Regions from separate parts of the Homo sapiens genome. Here all the other regions are linked to region 3. Evidence: promoter capture Hi-C in 16 types of primary human blood cells and fetal thymus (Javierre and others, 2016). All regions are on one chromosome and are shown on one strand. Each heading gives the region's core, a stretch centred on a gene start or on the middle of the fragment in contact. The rest is flanking DNA. Distances are from core to core; before and after follow the strand shown.

Region 1 (4,787 bases), core at 1,162-3,661, 5.2 Mb before region 3:
ACATGAGGTGTGGCAGTAAATGAAGTTGATGTGTTCGCAGGTCCTTACATTGTCCTGGAAGAAGTATAATACCAAATTATCTTAAAGATGATAAACCAAGGTTCCATGTTTTAATACCTGAGGTGAACAGTAAAAAGATACTAAAAGACATCTGTCAAGCTTATGAGGTAGAAAAAATGGAATAATTAAAAATAATCTAAAAGGTCTATAGCCATACCACCCTGAATATGCCTGTTCTCATCTGATCTGGGAAGCTAAGCAGGGCTGGGGCTGATTGGCACTTGGATGAGAGTCTGCCTGGGAATATCAGGTGCTATGGCCTAATTAAGAAAAAAAAAAATCAAAAAGGCAAAAGAAGACAAAATGAACATATAAGAGGTGGGACAAATAAAATAAGAATAATGACAAATTTAAATCCAAGTATGTTAGTAATTATGTTACATGAAAGCTGACTCTTTATGCCAATTAACAAATTACCAAAGTGGATTTTAAAAATATATTATCTTATATTACTCTTTGGATTAAAATGCTCTCATTTTTTTTTCCATTGCACATAGAATAAAATCTAAACTCTTTCCTGTCTTTCAAAGGTAACATGATCTAGCCCTTTCCTATCCCTCCAAAGTTACAGTATTTGCGTCTTAAGTCACTATTCTCTAACCATGCAGGCCTTCTTTTGGCTCCTGAAATATTCCAGGCTAGATCATGCCTTAGATTTTGCAGTTGTCCCTTCTGCAAGCAAAGGGTTCACCAATTTTTACAAAGCTGGATTCTCTTGTCATTTACACAGCAGCTTAAATGGTATTTTAGTTTCTTTAATCACCTAATCTAAAATAGTCATGTTTGAATTTCATGCCTAGTACTTACCACTGTCTTCTGTTTTTGTTAATTTATGGCTTATTACTACTAAAATGTAAATTTCCTGATAGTAGGGACAATATCTGCTTTATTTACCACTATTTCCTCAGAGTGTAGAAGAGTGAATGATACAGTTTTATATTCAATAACTATTTAATGGATGGATAAAGCTAATTAAAGTTTTAAACAGATAGGTACTTTCAGACAGTTTTGTCTTTTTACTGCTATTGGTGGTACTGATTGTTTAAAGACTTTCTTGATACCAAAAAATATCAAATGGATGTATGTGAGTGGTCCTTGAAAATGTGCACTGTACAACCTGTGTAAAATTGCAAGGGTTATTTCACCAATTAATCAGCTATGTGATATATTCCTAGATACAACTGTGGTAAGCTACATGAAAATAAAAATTCAGAAGTCTACTGAATTGTTAAAGGTTGCAATATACTTCAGAATAACATTTAAAACATTTTTTTTTCCAGCCTAGAAAGATGAGAGTAATATAGTGGATGTTAAAAAGCATGTTGAAAACAAAAAAAATCCTCATCCTTTTTTTTTTTTCTTGAGATAGTCTCGCTCTGTCACACAGGCTGGAGTGCAGTGGTGCCATCACAGCTCTCCGCAACCTCTGCTTCACAGGCCCAAGCGATCCTCCCACCTCAGCCTCCCAAGTAGGTGGGGCTACAGGGGTGTGCCACCATGCCTGGTTAATTTTTATATTTTTGTAAAGAGGGGGTTTTGCCATGTTGGCCAGGCTGGTCTTGAATTCCTGGCCTCAAGTGATCTGCCCAACTCGGCCTCCCAAAGTGCTGGGATTATAGGCATGAGTCACTATGGTCAGCAAAAAAAATAAATAAATAAATAAATAAAATCCCCCAATATACAAAGTTTGTTTTAGAGTGTTAATGCCAGCAGTGGGGATTGATATATTTTGGTTACTTTTTGCAATTTGTGCTTAAAATTTGTTTCATGTCAAAGCAATCATACTGGCCACAATTTTGCATCCTGCTGTCTTAATATGGGCAACTATAACCAAACTACCATAAACTGGGTGACTTAAACAACAGAAATTTATTTCTCACAGTTCTGGAGGCTGGGAAGTTAGAGAAGAGTGCCAGCATGGTTGGCACAAATTAGGCCCTCTTCCTGATTTGTAGTTGTCTGTTTTCTTGCTGTGTCCTCACATGGTGAAGAGCAAAGAAAGAGTGGAAGCAAGCTGTCTAGGGTCTCTTGTTGTAAAGGCACTAATCCCATGCAGGGCTTCACCCTTATTATTTAATCACCCCCCAAAGGCCCCACCTACTAATATCATGTCATTGGAGATTAAGGCTTCAATATATGAATTCTGGTGCGGAGGGAGGGGGGACACAAACATGCAGTCTATAAAATGCTTTTTAATTTTTTGAGACAGGATCTTGCTCTGTTGCCCAGGCTGCAGTGCAGTGGCATGATCTTGGTTTACTGCAACATCTACCTCTTGGACCCAAGTGATCCTCCCACCTCAGTCTCCTGAGTAGCTGGAACTACGGGCACACCCCATCACACTCAGCTAATTTTTAAATTTTTTGTAGAGAAGAGGTCTCACTATATTGCCTAGGCTAGTCTCCAACTCTTGTGCTCTAGTGATCCTCCCACCTCAGCCTCCCATAGTGCTGCAATAACAGGAGTGAGCCACTGTGCCTGGCCTCAAATGCTGTTTTAACTTAGACAATAAACATTTTCCATTAGAAAGACTAGTCTAATGGCTCTTTAGAACAGCTAGATAAAATTCCACTAAGCATATATAACAATTGATCAATCTTATCGTCTGTAAGACTGCAACAAACTTTTTACCATTATAGGTATTACTACAAATAACGTCTTTGTCATAAAGCATTTTAAGGGCAATTTAAATGAAGTAACTGTTTACAACATTCACTTAAATGATATTTGTTATGGGGAAGGCGAGAAAACAAAACAAGGTCCCAGCTGTGGAGGAATTTATAGTCTAATTAGGAAAACAGTATATGTTAGGGGAAAAAAAACTACAATGAAAGCATACGACACTTAACCTTGTTCAGAAACAGTAATTTCTTAGCAGAAAAACTAAGCAGAACATTTTGCAAAAAATATGGACTGAACTGCGAAAAAGTGATATATCTTAATGGTTTAAAGAGTTCCAGGTCAGTGTGGGTATCGTACTTTTTGTTGGTCTTGAAAGCATTTGAGAACAGTTCTCATTCAGGACATTTCAACTCATCACAAAGCCCGAATGGTAAGCAACCAAGACTTTTCTCAAAGATTATGCTCCTAATTCCCTTGCTGAAACTACTGAATTTCTTTTCATCTCCATCTATCTTTTCTTCCCTTTCATAACTGTCCCCTTTCTTTGTATCTTTGTCAAAGACACTCACCTATTTTAAATAATGGAAACAGAGAAATTACTGTACTTCAAGGCAGGCAACCAATAGATAATAATATTATTCTACCAAAAAAAAAAGACTGGGTGGCACTACCTTAAAACATATATCCATTTTAATCATTAAATAGCATTACTTATATAACAGATTTTTCACATGTAATTGAGAGAACTGTGTGAAACAGAACATTAAAAGATATTAATCAAGAGTTATTCATCAACTTGCCATACAACAAATAAGGAACACTGCACTCTGTGATCTATTAAAAATGATAAGCAGATAATCAAAACTGCGATTTCTTTTCATGGTTTTACTCTAGCAGGAATGGATTCCATTCTGATAGTAATTCCAGTTTTACTGTCACATAGAAGGAGATACTTTGCGAACCTCAATGACTGCCAGGTTTAGGACAGATATTAAGAACCACAGTGTCAGAAATGAAAGAGTACAACTTCACAGAATGTGTTGTCTCTGACAGGTTGATAGCCACTTACCTTCTCCATCTTTTCTTCCTCAAGGATAGCAGCTGCTTCCCACAGATACACCAACAGGCAATTCCAGCCCCTCTCTACCACACTTACCATTTGCAGGTGCCTGTGGCTTGTCTATTTACAACCTTGTCCCTACACAGCAGAAGCGGAACCCTTCAGGAAGTTCTGGATTCATCCTCAGCAGGATCTGTTTCACAAACTATTCTCCAGTCCCACCTTCCCTCCAGGTATTCTGTCAGTACTTACGATTCCCAGATCTTCTTTTAATTGTCACGCTGTTCGTCCCCTCACAAAATCAAGTTTAAACTAAAAAAAAAAAACAAAAAAAAAAACCCTCATACACTCAGTCTGTGTCCCCTTTCCTGACATAAAATAACTGGCCCTGTGCATGCTTCTTTTGGATGGCTGAGAACCCCGATTCCTTTGGGCCATTTACAGCTTGGATACCATACGCTCCAGGTACTTTGATAAGCAGGGTGAAATTTAATATCTATAACAACGCCTGCCTACTCAACCTTCTTAACTTCTCCCAAAACTTCCTAGTTTCCCTTCCCAATTCCAACTTCATAACAAAACATCACACTATGGCACAAAGTGAATTCATGGATGAAATTACTAACAGCTACAACTTAAGTAAGGACCCCAAGTCGTGAGACAAATTTCTGGGTTGAAAGTGCTCTGTATATCCATTTCAAGCCTGCCTCCAGTACGATGTCTCATTATAATCAAATAAAAAGGCAGAAAAAGTTGAATGGAATAGAGTTTGGAAAAAACACAAAATTAAAAGTTGTATGAGAGTTTCACTTATTTGCATCTGATATAAATATCTATACATCTATAGAAAAAAAAAACCCTCATACACTCAGTCTGTGTCCCTTTTCCTGACATAAAGCAACTGGCCCTGTGCAAGCTTCTTTGGGATGGCTGAGAACCCCGATATATCGATATATTTATAGATAGACGTCTACATATCTATCCAAATATCTATATCTATCCATATATCTACCTATCTATCTATCTATATATATATCTATATCTA
Region 2 (5,052 bases), core at 1,838-4,337, 7.3 Mb before region 3:
TTTTGTAGAATTGAGGTCCTCAATTTCTTGCTGGCTGTTGGCTGGGGTCATCTCAACTTTTAGAAGCAGCCTTCATTCTTTTGACTCATGATCTCATTTCATTTCAGCCTATAATTGTGGATTGAGTTCTTATACTTGGTTTATTTATTTACCTACTTATTTATTTGAGCCAGAGTCTCACTCTGTTGCCCATGCTGGAGAGTGCAATGGCGCAATCTTGGCTCACTGCAACCTCCATCTCCCGGGTTCAAGCAATTCTCCCGCCTCAGCCTCCTGAGCAGGTGGGACTACAGGCATGTGCCACCATGCCTGGCTAATTTTTGGATTTTTAGTAGAGACAGGGTTTCGTGTTGGCCAGGCTGGTTTCAAACTCCTGACCTCAGGTGATCCACCTGCCTCGGCCTCTCAAGGTGATGGGATTACAGGCATGAGTTATCATGCCCGGCCAGAGTTCTTATACTTTAAATCTCTCTAACCTCTCCTGCTTCATTTTTTCTGCCTCTAAGTGGAAGAAGTTCTCTGATTTTTAGGACTCACATGATTAGACTGAGCCCACTGGATAATCCAGGATAAACTCCCTATTTTAAGGTTAATAACCTTAATTACACTTACAAAGTTCCTTTTTCCATGCAGTGTAACATTAACAAATTTCAAGGATTAGGACATGGACATCTTCGATGGGTCATTCTATCTGCCACACTCTTGTATTTTACATCTATCTTATTTTTGGATTTCATTCTTACTTTTCTGGAGTACATATTTCAGAAAGAGTATATGATAATTGAACTTTCTGAAATCTTTATTATGTACTCATAATTGAGTTTTGTTCTGACAGGAAATAGAATTCTAAGTTCAAAATAATTTTCACTTACAATTTTGAAGGTATTATCTTTCGGTATCTAAAGTTTCTGATGAGAAATCTGATACTAGCTCAATTCTTAAATTCTTTTATAAAAGGTCAGATTCTTGTGACTGGAAGCTTTTAGGCCTTTTTCTTTATTTTTGATGCTCTGAAATGGCTTCTTTATGTGTCTAGGTGTGGTTCTTTTACTATTATTTTGCTCAGTACTAAATGTGTTCTATCAATTTGGAGACCTGTATTTATCTTCAGTTCCTCGAAGTATCTTTTCAATGTGTGATATTTTTCTCCTCCTCCTCTTGTTCTCTCTTTCAGAAATTCTTATTAGTCAAATAATGAATTAGTCCTCCATTTTTTTCTCAAAATTCTCCATGTTTTTGTTTGAATACTGCAAGTTTTGTGATATTTTTTCAATTAAATCATCTTGCCAGTTTAATTTTTACATTCATGTTTATTTTCAACAGTCTTTTCTTATTCTCCAATGCTCCTTTTTCAGAGTATTCTGTTCTCTAATATTTTCTTGAGTACTTCTTAGGCAGCTTATTATTATTAATTTCTTATTATTTTATTTTGGTTCCTTAGCTGACTCAGAGTCTTCCTGAAATGGTTTTTAGTTTTATCTTTCATGCTGTTGATTTTCATATCTCTGATGGTTTTTCATTCTTCATTCATTTTAAAGACTCAGGCCACGTGCCGTAGCTCACGTTTGTAATCCCAGCACTTCAGGAGGCCAAGGCGCAAGGTGGGAGGTTGCTTGAGCCCAGGAGGTTGAGGTTGCAGTGAGCTATGATCTAAGGCCATGTCATTGCCCTCCAGCCTGGGCAACAGAGAGAACCCCCGTCTCTAAAAAAAGGAAAAAAAAAAGAGTGGAGTTCTAGATAGATGTAAAGAGACAAAACACTGGGGAGAGGAATCTGGAGGAACTGAAGTACAGTGGTTTCCTAAAGAGGTTTTAAATTGACATTTTGTTTTTAGCCCCCTTCTCATTTCCACCTTCTACTGTACAAGGGAACTCTATTCCTGGAGTCTCTCTGGGACTTTGCTAGGTAGATCAACTCTCTGTGAAACATAAGTCATCTCTGGAAAATTATAGGATGCCACTTCAGTGATCTGTTTCATTTGTCAACAAGTTTCCATATTTCTTTTGATCTTTCCAATAATTTTTTAAATACCTAGTCTGCTGATGGTCCCTCTCCAGGTCACTTCAGCTTTAGAAATTAATTTATTGGCTAGGCATGGGAGCTAATTCCTGTAATCTCAACACTCTGGGAGCCTGAGGCTGGAGGGTCACTTGAGACCAGGAGTTCTAGACCAGCCTGGGCAACACAGCAACACAGTGTAAAATTTAAAAAAAATTAGCTGAGCATGGTGGCATGCTTCTGTAGTCCTAACTTTTCAGGAGCTGAGGCGGGAGGATCCTTTGAGCCCAGGAGTTTGAGGTTACAGTGAGTTATGCCACTGCACTCCAGCGTGGGTGATAGAGGAACTCTTGATTTATTAAGGCTTTAGGAGGCAGACTAAACAAATATTTATGTCACTACCTTTTCAAAGCAGACATTTTTATTTACATTTGGCTGTCTCTGGAATTTCTGGTCTGATTACCATTGTACCAAATACATTTTAGTGTCCCATACAGCAATTTTTGTATTATTATTCTTTTTCACAGTTTAGTAAGTTATTTTTATAGAATTGTTGTTGAGATGGTCTTTGGAATACCTTTGTTCAATTCAAGAAAAATATGAGAATTTTGATTGCATCAAATTTAGGTTTAAAATATAATTAGTGTAACCACCTGTCTTATCTTTAGTAATAGATGATTAGACCCCAAGTTTCAGCAGAGCAGTTTTCCATCTAGAGATTTCTTGCCTCAACCTCCCGTGAAGCAAGAAGTGGTTGTCACTAGTTCTCACTAATTAAATATAATAAAAGTGATGCGTGTAAATTCCCTGTCACTCTCTTAAAAGGACACCCTATTGAAAACCTTTTAAAATCTGTTTGCCCAAATTATTTGCTTATAAAACGCACTCTGAGACCAAAAGCATCTCACAAAATCCTAGTGTTTCAGGAATGAGGTTTGAGAAACACTGGTGTTTAAGTATTCTGCCGATCATATTTAAAAAAGTATTTTCTAAACCCACTTTATATCCTAATAGAAAAGGTGTTACCTATTATTCAGTGCCTTTTTGACACTGAGATGATTTCCTTAACCTAACATTATAATTATTTAACACAGATTTATATTTTGAATTATCTTTGCACTTAACAAAAAAAAACTCAATTTAGTTATAGAGAAATGTTCCTTTAAGACAGTATCAAACTGACTTTGCTAACATCTAGGAATTTTGCACTTAAGTTCACAAATGAACATCAAACATGAGTCAGGCACTGGGGATACAATGGTGAGAAACATGCATAGCCTTCATCATCACTGAGCTTACACTGAGTGACTTTAAATGTTCTTTTAGGATGTGAAAGATTATGGCAGCTTCAAAAATTAAGCTAAGAAGCTCTCCATCATTTTCTATGACTTGAGTTTAAAGCACAAGATTTAGCTCTTATGATTTTTAATCATAAATCTGAGTGGGCTGGAGGCTTTTTATTTGTGAGTACAGAACTTTGGCATCTTTGTTCCAGTCCTGTCTGTAGTTATTGACTTAATTCAGTTTTCCACCTTTTTTGAGTTATGTTTTCCTTGAAAAGTGACTATTTCATTTTCTATTAATATTTATTGGCGGTATAAAATTGTATAAAATATTTTAATAATTTTTAAACCTCCCTTTTATTAAATTACCAACCTTACTAGTGGCACTATTCCTTTTCTTGTTACACTTCCTATAAGTCTTTGAATTTCACTGGTATTGCCAAAAACCAGCTTTATACTAGATTATGAGTACTTTATCAATTTTACCAATTTCCTTTTAAAACACTGTTCTCAAACTTTATCTTTACTAATTTCCTCTTCCTAATTTCAATTATACAATTTGTTCTTCGTTTCTAACATCTTCAAATAAATGCTTGGCCTATTTTTATTCTTTCTTATTTAAAATAATGTTCTCCTATAACTTGGTCTGTATCTTAAAATTTTAACATATAGTTTTTTTCAATATCATTATGTTCTAGTAACTACAATTTCTCTTTCCTTTTAGACTCAAAGGTGATTTATAAAGGTACTTTAAAATTTAAAATACGAACAAAATAAAAGTTCCACTTTTGTTTTTTAGGGGTGCTATCCCTTAGCTAATTTTTAGCTTATTCTATCATACTATCTTTCCTTGTGCAAATTTAGCCCATCCTTCTAGGTCTAACGTTTATGTCACCTCCTTTAAGAAGCATATCTTGTGTTCTCTCCCTTCTCTAAAATTTTATATACATCCCTTAAACATATAATGTTTATATATTCTCCGCCTTCAACTCCCATCCTCAGGCTATTTTATTCACGTTTATGAGATTTGCTGTTTAGCTCAGTATTTTGTGGATTTTCAAAAGATTCCACTCAATTTACCGAGCACCTACGCACCAGACATTTTATTAGGTACAAGGAAAAGCGTTAAATAGATATAATCACGGCCTCCAAGAAATTGAACCTAGTAAGAGACACGAATAAGCAGACATTCAAGTGAGCTTTAGGAGACTTGGTTTGGTAGTGAAGACAGTCTCATGTGTGTTAACAGCTTACAGCACTGAAAAATAAGAGACAGAAGGGAACAAATCCGTTTCAAACAGTTCAAAGGAGGAAAGAGAGGGAAAGGTGGTTTAGATACAGCTAAATCATAAATAGCCTGATAATCTAACCCTGTGATAATCCAAGTACAGCCACAGCACCTGCCTCAGAATCACTTGGAAGGCTTGTGAGGAGTAAAAACGCAGATTCATACCTACTGAAATTAGAATGGAGAAACGGACATTTAAGTCTGCATTTTAAACACATTCCCCAGGTACTGAGGCCATTCCAAGTTTTAGAACAGAGCACAGCCAATTTTCGCAGACCTTGTTCCTCAAGTACTCCCTCCTTCTAGCCGGAGGGTGGCCTGCAGCATGTCCCTTCCCTTCCCACCGCCGAAGCTGTCCATCCAGTTTCTGAATGGCGGCCCACAGACCGCACGGCTTTACGAGAGAGGAACACAGCGCCCACCCGCCAAACAGCCACACAGGGATCGGAGGCCGGACCCGCAAAGGATTCGGGGAAAAACGCA
Region 3 (4,713 bases), core at 269-2,768:
GACCTAAAAGGTATAATATAAAGGAATTACAAGACAGAACATTAAAAGACTTTTTTTATCCTTAGGTGGAGAGTACTGTATCTTTTAAATACCTTTCTTATTCCCCTCTCCCCCAACCTTATTAAATTCCTTAAAGGAACAGACCATCTTTGTTCCTATGCTGCAATCTGAAGATCCATGAATAAAGCAGGCACCCAGTAAATACTTGCTAATTTGTGTATTTGACCAACTCTTGACAATTCAATATAACAGACTCAAATATCAAGTTAGTTATAGTTTAAAACAAAACCTTTGTGTGCCCTAGTGAACAATGTAAACACAAATAGCAGAATCCCAAATCTTCTAATCATTGTGTTGCCCTAAATACAAAAGGGTCTCATAGGCCGAATACAGTTCATAAACCAAAATCTCACGTGAGTTACCTTCTCTCTTTCTCTCTATCCACCTTCTAAGTCCATAAAAAATTGAAAACATTCTGAAAAGAACTCTCTCCTGCCTGAGAAAAAATACACCACACATTTAGAACCAAAAGCTTGCCATAAGGGGGCAAAGAGTGAAAAACTCTCATTTCTAATACTTTATTAGAATTCCAAGAACTACGCAAATTCAAACATGTCAAAGCGCCTGTTTCTCCATCGATAAAATGCAGAAAGAAAAACGTGTGTGTGTAGTAGAACCTCACCTAATGGGATAATTAAAATCAGAAAAAGCTAAATACTACTACTGATTAAAAGTTGCCTTGTCATTTGTCTTGCCAGTTGATCTCTTTAAAGTACCTAATCAATCGCTGCAGTCCGCAAACGGCAGTTCCTTCCCATTGGTTACCACAGAAAGTTCTTTCCTGACCTCAAATTGCCTAGTACGTTTCAGCCTCGATGCCTGGTTGGAACCCACAGTTTACCAATATCTGGGGATTGAAAGGACAGGCCAGTGCTGGGGAAATGCTCAAACAGCCTACTCAACACTACCCTCTGGATTCAACCGTCCTCCCAATCCCACAACCAACACAGAGCATTTCAAAAGTGCTTCGCATTCCCAAGAATCCCTCAGATGCAAACGGAGAAACTGAAAAGGGGGTGAACAGGTCGCACCCTGAGGATAATGCCGAGAACCCTAGCATCCCCAAAAGCCCACAAGAGGAAGTCGCGGGAGCTCACAAATTGAGGGGGATTCTCGCATTGTGGAGTTCTAGGGGTAAGTAGCAGGGAACTTTTTTAAAAAGAAAGCAAAAAGATAAAAAGAACAGAACCTCAGATTTTTGTTATTTAAAGAGGCAGCCCCACTTCCGGATCCTACCTCTCCGTGACTCTACTTCCGGTATCTTCCAAAACGCCCGCTTTCACAGATCAAGGTTTTGCAACCAATGAGAGTATCAGCTACTTCCGCCGGCCTGCGGGACGTGATCTAAATCCCGCCTTTTCCGGTGGAGAGGAGCCTATCCTAGTGTCTTAACCGCCCGTCTTGGTAGGCGGTGCCGTGACAAGCCCAACCGGACGGCTGGAGAGGGCGAGAAGGGCAGACGGGACATGCAGCCTCTTCCGCCTGAGCCCCGGAAGGGTGATGTGGCTGCGGCATCGCCGGCCTCGCTATGGTAAGAAGTGGGGCTCCCAGGTCGCGGTTGATCTTCGAGAAGGGGTTGTGGATCTAGACTAGGGCTGGAGTTTGTGCGGCAGCCCGGGGTGTGTGGGCCCGGAGCTGAGAGGCCTTGGAGCCATGTGGTCCCTCCACGGCCAACCAGAGAGAATCAGGACGGACTGTCCGAGGAAGACTGCTGGGTCGGCAGCCCGCCCCTCATGCAAAGTCCGCTTTCCTACTTTGTTTAGGAAAAAAAAATGCGTTGGTGTGTTTTAACACGTTGGCTACGTAGATTATGTGTGGTCATTGACCCTTTGAAGCATTAGCGCTTCTCGAGTTTCCGCTTGTTTTGTTGCAACTCCTTATCTCGCCCTAGGGGCTTTACTCTGGTGTTATTGTTTGATTTTTGGGGGGAGTTTCTTTTGGCACCAAACTCCATACCTTCATTTTCATCTGTTTAGTCAGTAGCCTCTCAAGACCCTTCCACCTTCTTCTCTTAACTTTGAAAATGCTGCTTTACAAGCTATAGGTTTTAATAGTTAAGAGTTCTCTGCAAAGGTGGATTGCCCTTCTAGGAGCTTAATGTACTTATTGGAGTGGTGTCTAGCCTCAGGCCTTCCTCCTCTTTTACCTCCAGGTCCATGTGCCAAATGTTATGTATATTTCTGGACAAAGGATGCATGCCTGCAAATAGACCCAAAAACAACTATGACTCCAAAAAGCTTGAGTCTCCATGGTGAAAAATTATGAGCCTATGTTCACAGAAGTTGCTGCAGAATCCCATATAGCAATAATTCATTTTCTTCTCTGGACGAATTTACCACCTGGTGGGAAGATGGCAGTTGAGACTAGGAAGACTGCCACTCTTAATTCTTATACATCTTTCTAGAAACTGAAGTTGAATTCTTCTACTCGTAGTGCAAGTCAAAGATAACTCTTTTTATTATCTCACTGTCAGACTAGCTAAAAATAAGATGCATATACTGTGCTTAAGATCAACAGTATATAAACTATCTTGTCATGCTTGTTTTTCCAAAAGTAGCAAATGCTTTCATTTATTATCACGTCCTATGTACCAGGCTCTTTTCAAAAAATCAGTTTATAAGCATGGAAATATCAAGTTCACAGCAACTTCTGAATAGATGTTTACAAGTGAAAGAAGTGAAACATGAAGAGACTGACTTGCCTCGGATCACACCTAGTAGATTGTAAAGCCAGTACTCAAACTTATTTTAATGTCCAGGTCCCCGAAATCTTCATGCTGTTATCGATAGAAACACAACATAACTAAGGATGAAATAAGACTTAGTGATTTGTTTCTTATAAATATAAGTACATAAATTAGACATAGGTGGAAAACGGAAACAACTGGCAGGTGGTTTTTTATTCCTGTGAGCTTGGGATGTCAAAAGTACATTGTTTGCAGAGCTACGAAGTGAGGTTTCAAGAAGGCTAACTTAGCAGCTTAAGAAATGGATTAGTGTCTCAGTATCTTTGAGTTCGCATCTAAACTTAGTTTATTTGTGAGGTAACCCAATGGTAATGACTTAATAAACCTGAATTACTGTATTTTAATGATTTTTTTTTTTTTTGAGATGGAGTCTCCCTCTGTTGCCCAGGCTGGAGTGCAGTGGCATAATCTCAGCTCACTGCAACCTCTGCTTCCTGGGTTCAAGCAATTCTCCTGCCTCAGCCTCCCGAGTAGCTGGGACTACAGGCGTGCACAACCACGCCTGGCTAATTTTTGTATTTTTAGTAGAGACGAGGTTTCACCATGTTGGCCAAGATGGTCTCGATCTCTTGACCTCGTGATCCTCCCACCTCAGCCTCCCAAAGTGCTGGGATTACAGGCGTGAGCCACCGTCCCCAGCCAAGAATCTTTTTAAAAAGCATTTCAAGGATAAAATGTTTATCAGCAGTAATAATTTACAACTGTCAGCATGAACAGTAATTGTAGCACTTGTGAATTAATACTTTTAAAGAATTTCAGAATGCCTTGTTCCCCCCAACACCTAACATCCTTCAACATTTCTCTCATGTCTCATCTCTTTCCAAAAAGCCTCCCTTAACCCCTTCTATTTTCTTCTACTCTCTTTAGGTATCTATAGGGATATTCCTAGTTCATATGTATACTTCCAGTATCCCTCTAGCATAACCCTTTTCACAGAAAACAGCAATAAGGTGTTGCCTGCATTTCTCCCTCTCTAGGCAGAATTCTTAAAGACTAGGTATTTTAATCTCTACAGTCACAGTGCCAGCTGGAGTTATTACTCCATTAAGAGTCTGGGCCTGTAATCTCAGCACTTTGGGAGGCCAAGGTGGGTAGATCAACTGAGGTCGGGAGTTGGAGACCAGCCTGACCAGTGTGGAGAAACCCCATCTCTACTAAAAATAAAAAATTAGCCGGGCGTGGTGGCACATGCCTGTAATCCCAGCTACTTGGGAGGCTGAGGCAGGAGAATCACTTGAACCCAGGAGGTGGAGGTTGCGGTGTGTCGAGATTGTGCCATTGCACTCCAGCCTGGACAACAAGAGCGAAACTCCATCTCAAAAAAAAAAAAAGAGTCTGGGGATACAAACATGCTCAGTGTCTTCAAGGATTTCACAGTCCAGTGGGGGAAATTATTAAATAAGTAAATTCCATCTGTTGTCTGCTATGTTGTAGCAAGACAACACATGTAGTAGAGAGAGCATGGGTTTAGACTGAGCCAAACAGAGTTAGAATCATTTCCAGTTCCGAACCTTTACTTGGTTAACTCTAAGGGAGTTTATTTTCATGTCTTTTTCTTGGTGCACTAAATGATTTTCACAAACTCTGCAAAGCAGGAATGATTGCCCACATTTCATAATTAAACTGAGTCTCCAGAGAATAGATGTGAAGTATTTTCTCTCCTCTTATAGCAGAAGATATGTAGAAAATCATTAAACACAGTGGAAGGAGTAGTACTGGCTGGGAACTGCTTGAGAGATGTCCCCAAGAAAGAAGTAATTCTCTCTCACCTGTACTTTAAAGAGTATTAGGGAAGGAGTCATTAGCTAGAGGTGGGACAGCAATCTCTATCCCGTAGATAAAGGAAATGGCAGTTATGGGAACAAAAGGCATGAAGTTCAATAGTTGCATGGAGCCTTAATGTGGCA
Region 4 (4,636 bases), core at 241-2,740, 6.0 Mb after region 3:
TGGGAATTGATAGCTCTTAAATTTTCTAATTCTTTAGGGAGAATTGCTGACCTCTCAAAATATTAGCATAAAAACATTCTTTTCTGTAAGAAATAAAGGATCTGTTCACAAAGTCCCATCATTTAGTCTGATTTATCAAATTAACAGTAACACCAAAATGCTGGCTCTCTGAAGATTAGCAAAAAACGTTTTCTTTTAGAATCTCTAACGCAAGCAGTACTTCAACAATTTAGAATTATAAAGGAGCTTTTCAAAAGGCTGTCATGTAAAAAAGGCTGTTATATTTTGCTCCCGTCTCCCCATTTTTTTTTTTTTTTTTTTTTTTGAGACGGAGTCTTGCTTTGTCGCCCAGGCTGGAGTGCAGTGGCGCAATCTCGGCTCACTGCAAGCTCCGCCTCCCGGGTTCACGCCATTCTCCTGCCTCAGCCTGTAGCTGGGACTACAGGCGCCCGCCACCACGCTCGGCTAATTTTTTTTGTATTTTTACTAGAGACAGGGTTTTACTGTGTTAGCCAGGATGGTCTCGATCTTCTGACCTCGTGATTCGCCCGCCTCGGCCTCCCAAAGTGCTAGGATTACAGGCGTGAGCCACCGCGCCCAGCCACCTCTCCCTGTTTTTTTTTTTTTTTTTTTTTTACCATATTTGTATTTTCCTAGCATAGTTATTACACACCGTAGGTGTTTAAATTGACTAAACAAAAACTTTCCAATAATGTCATGTCAGGAACTCCATGTAATGGTCATACAAAGTCATTGCAACTCAACAGTTATTTTCATAGTCCATTTGGTAACAAAACAAAGAAGTCTGATGACGTTTCAGTGTTCAGCCTATATACTGGTTTTAGGAAACCACCAATAAATTATGAAGGACTAGACAACGGTCAAATTGAAACTAGTTACTATGTGGAAATAATCTGTTGGCAGAGAGGGCCTGCCAACAAGGTAGAAAAAAATACTATGCTCTTGGTTTTTTGGTTTTTATTTTGAGACAGAGTTGCACTCTGTCGCCCTGGCTGGAGTGCAGTGGCACGATCTCGGCTCACTGCAACCTCCACCACCTAGGTTCAAGCAATTCTCCTGCCTCAGCCTCCCGACTAGCTGCGATTCCAGGTGCCCGCCGCCACGCCCGGCTAATTTTTGTATTTAGTAGAGACGCCCGGCTAAATTTTGTATTTCACCATGCTGGCCAGACTGCTCTCGAACTCCTGACCTGGTGATCTGCCCGCCTCGGCCTCCCAAAGTGCTGGGATTACAGGCGTGAGCTACCGCGTCCAGCCAAGGTTGTTTTTAATGTGACAGTTTAAGTATTAACATTTGCCCCTACCATCTTGGAAACGAAATAAGCTGCTTAACGTCTCCAACAAAAGCAGTTATATATCGTCCCTACTTACACAAGAAAGCCGAAGATGATAAACGCCCAGAAGAGCAACCTTAAACAGGTATAGCATTCAAAAGTTTGTAAAATTGTTTGTTTTACTTCACCTTTACTACTGTGAGCTATCATTCTCATTTAATGGGGAACTGAGACTCGGTATATAAGTTCACACACCCAGTGAATAGCAGAGATGGGATTCTGACTCAAGTCCAGCATTTTAATAAACTCAAATGTGATCTACAGTAAATGCGCCTACTGCCAATGGGATGTTAGGTCAAGTGAGAATGAAGACAATGTAGCCACAGTACTTAAGTTCAATTCACGCCAGCCGCGAGACATTGATTTAAATCAAGTAACCTGAACTCAGGTTTGCTCCTAAGGTACTTGGAATTGTAACTGCGCTGAGCTTCTACTTATTTACTTTAAGTACTCTACAGTAGTTCTGAGCCCCTGCCAGGGACCCCTTCCGAGGCTATCACGGGCTTCGAAGGCCTCGCCTGGGCTGGATGGGGCGCGGGGCTGAGGAGGACCGCGCACCTGCGTGCGGAGCTCCTGGTTGTTGCTTTCTGCGTTCTGGTACAGCCGTTCTGTGTGATGCAGCAGCTTCTCGATCTCCCGCACCTGCCGCTTGCAGCTCCGCAGTTCACGTTCCAACTTCTCCACCTTCCGCCTTAGCTGGGCCAGCTCAGGCTCGGGGGAGGTGGGCGGCGGCGGCGACCGCGGCGGGGACGGCGCCTCCGAGGCCATGAGCTCCGGCGCGAGACTGCTCGTCGCCGCGGAGGGGCTGCGTTCAGGCCGAAACGGACGCCGGCGGACCCAGAGACCACTGGAGCGCGCGGGCAGCGAAAGGCAGCCTCACACCCGGCTGGCCGCGGTGGCCCCTGGCCATGACGCCCTGAAACTCACTTGTAGCCGAACGGGGCTGCGAGCAACGAGCAAGGGGACCGAGGATGGCCCCTGCCCGATGTGCGCGGCCTGCAAACCGGAAAACTTTCCTGGAAACTACCTTCTCCAGCTACAGAGACAGAGGGAGGAGCGTCGGATAAGCAGTCGGAAAACCAGAGGCCAGAAGAGCTCCAGCAGCTCCCCAGTTGAGCCGGAAACAACGGCGCCAGCGGCAGGCGGGACCAAGACGGAACAGGAAGCGACGGAAAGCGGGAAGACCTGACAGTGTACGTGCCGACGTCTCGGCCTGCGGAGGGGCGTTACCTGAGGGCGTGGAGAGCTGTGGCAATGTGGCTACCGAAGCCCTAAGAGCGACAGGGAGGCTTGCAGCCTCTGGTCTCAGACATTTGCACGTGCGGATGTTCTTTGAACAAACTTTTAGTATAGCATGCATTTCCTATCTCCTTGTTTTACAAATAAGAACAGAGTATCCCAGAAATGATTTGTGGGGACTATGATGCTCTACTTATGTCAACTGAAGAATGAGGAGGTTAATAAATTTAGAAAAGGGCTTTATTTCTCATGAAGGGTTACAGCCTGCAGGGTGGCCTTTCTGACAGGCTTGGAAGCATAGCCTCTGGTCAGAAGCTGAGAACAGACACTTGGAAGGAAGGACAAAGGGAACAGAAATTTATGCTGAGCAGGGTGGCCAAATATATTCAATGAGCTGTAGGAGGATTCATGAATATTTATGAAAGGAGAAATATGCACATGCACAATTAAGCTTCCTGCCTCTCTATGGGACCCATATTCAAAAAATGGTGGTGTTAGCATGATCCCAGTGTGAAGTTTTCAGCCCTCTGATGTCAAATGGCAAAGCAGAGGACATGAAAACCCTCGCTGTGAGTCCCTGGTAGATTGGCCAGAACTTCTCTGTGGTTGGTGGTCTCTTATCAGGAAGGAATGCTGGTTGGTGTGAAATCAGCCCAACTGTCCTATAGAACTGATGTTTATGGTTTCTTTTGAATAAACCTGGAAATTTACCCTCCCAGTCTTAAAACTTCAGAAAGTTACATCTTTCTTATCTGAGTTCCTTTCTTGGGAAACCAACCATGAGGCCTCCCAGATAGTATCAAGGAATTGAAACTTACCAGATCACTGCATCTGGACAATGAGGCACCATACCCCTCACCCATCATGATTGCCTAACCAGCCACCTGCTGCCTGTTGAACAAGTCCTCATCCTTACCGCTCACTAATTCCTGTTTTCTCACATGTAGTCACATTTCTCCCTTGCCATATAAACCTCTAATTTTAGTTGGTTGAGGAGATGGATTTGAGACTGATTTCCTATTCTCCTTGGCTGCAGCACCCAAATAGAACCTTCTTCCCTGGCAATACTCCTTGTCTCAATGACTGGCTTTCTATGTAGTGAACAATGGGTCTATTCAGTCAGTTCAGGGGCTCAGAATTTTACTTTTATTTCTCATTTAGTCATTCTTCTGGTTCCTGAGTTTAGACCCCCCGGGAAAATAGAGCAAGTACATTAGGTCTGAGTCGCAAAAAGGAGCATCCCTGGTGGGAAAATAAGAGAGAGACAATATTCTGTGGAAAAGGGGAGAAAAATGCTCTGGTTTGGTGCATTTATTTGGTCTTTTGTCTGCATGACCCTGGCATTGGTTTGCCAATATTTAAACTGATGTGGCCTTCTTTGGAACACACTTCCTTCCTTTGCCAAAGTCATTTAGAATTAGATCATGAGCTCAGAGTCCTGGGCCTGAGATTTGTGGAGGTCAGCAGCTGTGTCATGCAGATGCTCCTCTCTCAGGGCCCAGCACAGTGCCTGTCGCAGAGCAGTATCCGTAAATGCTGAACACAGCTGAACAAGAGAATCCTGTTTGGTGTCTTAGATCAGTGGCCACTTCCATTAACTATATTTTCTTATTTTTTGTATTCTTGATGCTCTGGCATCTGGGGTCTCCCTGACCAGGGAGATAACCCCTCCAAGGGTTAGCTAATTCCTAGACATAGCAAACAACTCACCCAGCATGCCACACACTGATCATCTACCTTCTTTATCAGGCTGTTACACTCCATGCCAATATTCCCCTGCCCTAATCACTCCAGGGCAAAGTACCAGACAACTAGGAACAACTCCTACATCTCAGATCCCACTGAAATTATGCAAACTAAACCTGCTTATCCTGATTTGTCCATTCCTTCCTGCAAAAATCACATAATGTTTTTTGCCATGTTTCCTCCCACTCCTTCTGCCTCCTTTGGACCTTGGTGCTTCTCCACATTGCCTTGTGTGGCTTGGTGTGCATCCTCCTCTTGGGCTGGGTGAATAATAAACTGTCTTTTTGATAGCAGACC

What was found. Contacts are between HindIII fragments. The CHiCAGO score rates a contact against its expected background, and 5 or more counts as called.
Region 1: a contact is called between a fragment that was not itself captured here and the fragment with the promoter of TMEM167A in region 3, in 1 of 17 cell types (activated CD4 T cells). The highest score is 6.2, in activated CD4 T cells.
Region 2: a fragment that was not itself captured here is called in contact with the fragment with the promoter of TMEM167A in region 3 in 1 of 17 cell types (non-activated CD4 T cells); the score reaches 5.6 in non-activated CD4 T cells.
Region 4: a contact is called between a fragment that was not itself captured here and the fragment with the promoter of TMEM167A in region 3, in 1 of 17 cell types (non-activated CD4 T cells). The highest score is 6.8, in non-activated CD4 T cells.

What each region holds. Positions count from the first base shown.
Region 1 is chr5:88,269,793-88,274,579 of GRCh38, reverse strand. It overlaps TMEM161B-DT (TMEM161B divergent transcript), which reads right to left. Exons shown (of 3, transcript NR_039995.1): 2 at 3,995-4,054. It also overlaps the pseudogene RNA5SP187. Among named protein-coding and RNA genes, the nearest start is that of TMEM161B-DT, 3.3 kb to the right of the region's middle. The HindIII fragment of the contact is 4,499 bases long and covers 162-4,660 here.
Region 2 is chr5:90,409,987-90,415,038 of GRCh38, reverse strand. It overlaps LOC731157 (a long non-coding RNA gene), which reads right to left and starts at 5,039. Exons shown (of 2, transcript NR_105024.1): 1 at 4,735-5,039; 2 at 4,370-4,539. The HindIII fragment of the contact is 4,211 bases long and covers 982-5,052 here.
Region 3 is chr5:83,074,199-83,078,911 of GRCh38, reverse strand. TMEM167A (transmembrane protein 167A) reads left to right here and starts at 1,518. Exons shown (of 4, transcript NM_174909.5): 1 at 1,518-1,591. The coding sequence starts at 1,589. XRCC4 (X-ray repair cross complementing 4) reads right to left here and starts at 1,365. Exons shown (of 8, transcript NM_003401.5): 1 at 1,297-1,365. RefSeq lists enhancers at 471-1,436, 1,511-1,780, 1,437-2,402 and a silencer at 1,361-1,450. The HindIII fragment of the contact is 1,765 bases long and covers 535-2,299 here.
Region 4 is chr5:77,028,253-77,032,888 of GRCh38, reverse strand. It overlaps AGGF1 (angiogenic factor with G-patch and FHA domains 1), which reads right to left and starts at 2,485. Exons shown (of 14, transcript NM_018046.5): 1 at 1,913-2,485. The coding sequence starts at 2,122. RefSeq lists enhancers at 1,668-2,247, 2,259-2,608, 2,248-2,827. The HindIII fragment of the contact is 3,112 bases long and covers 1-3,046 here.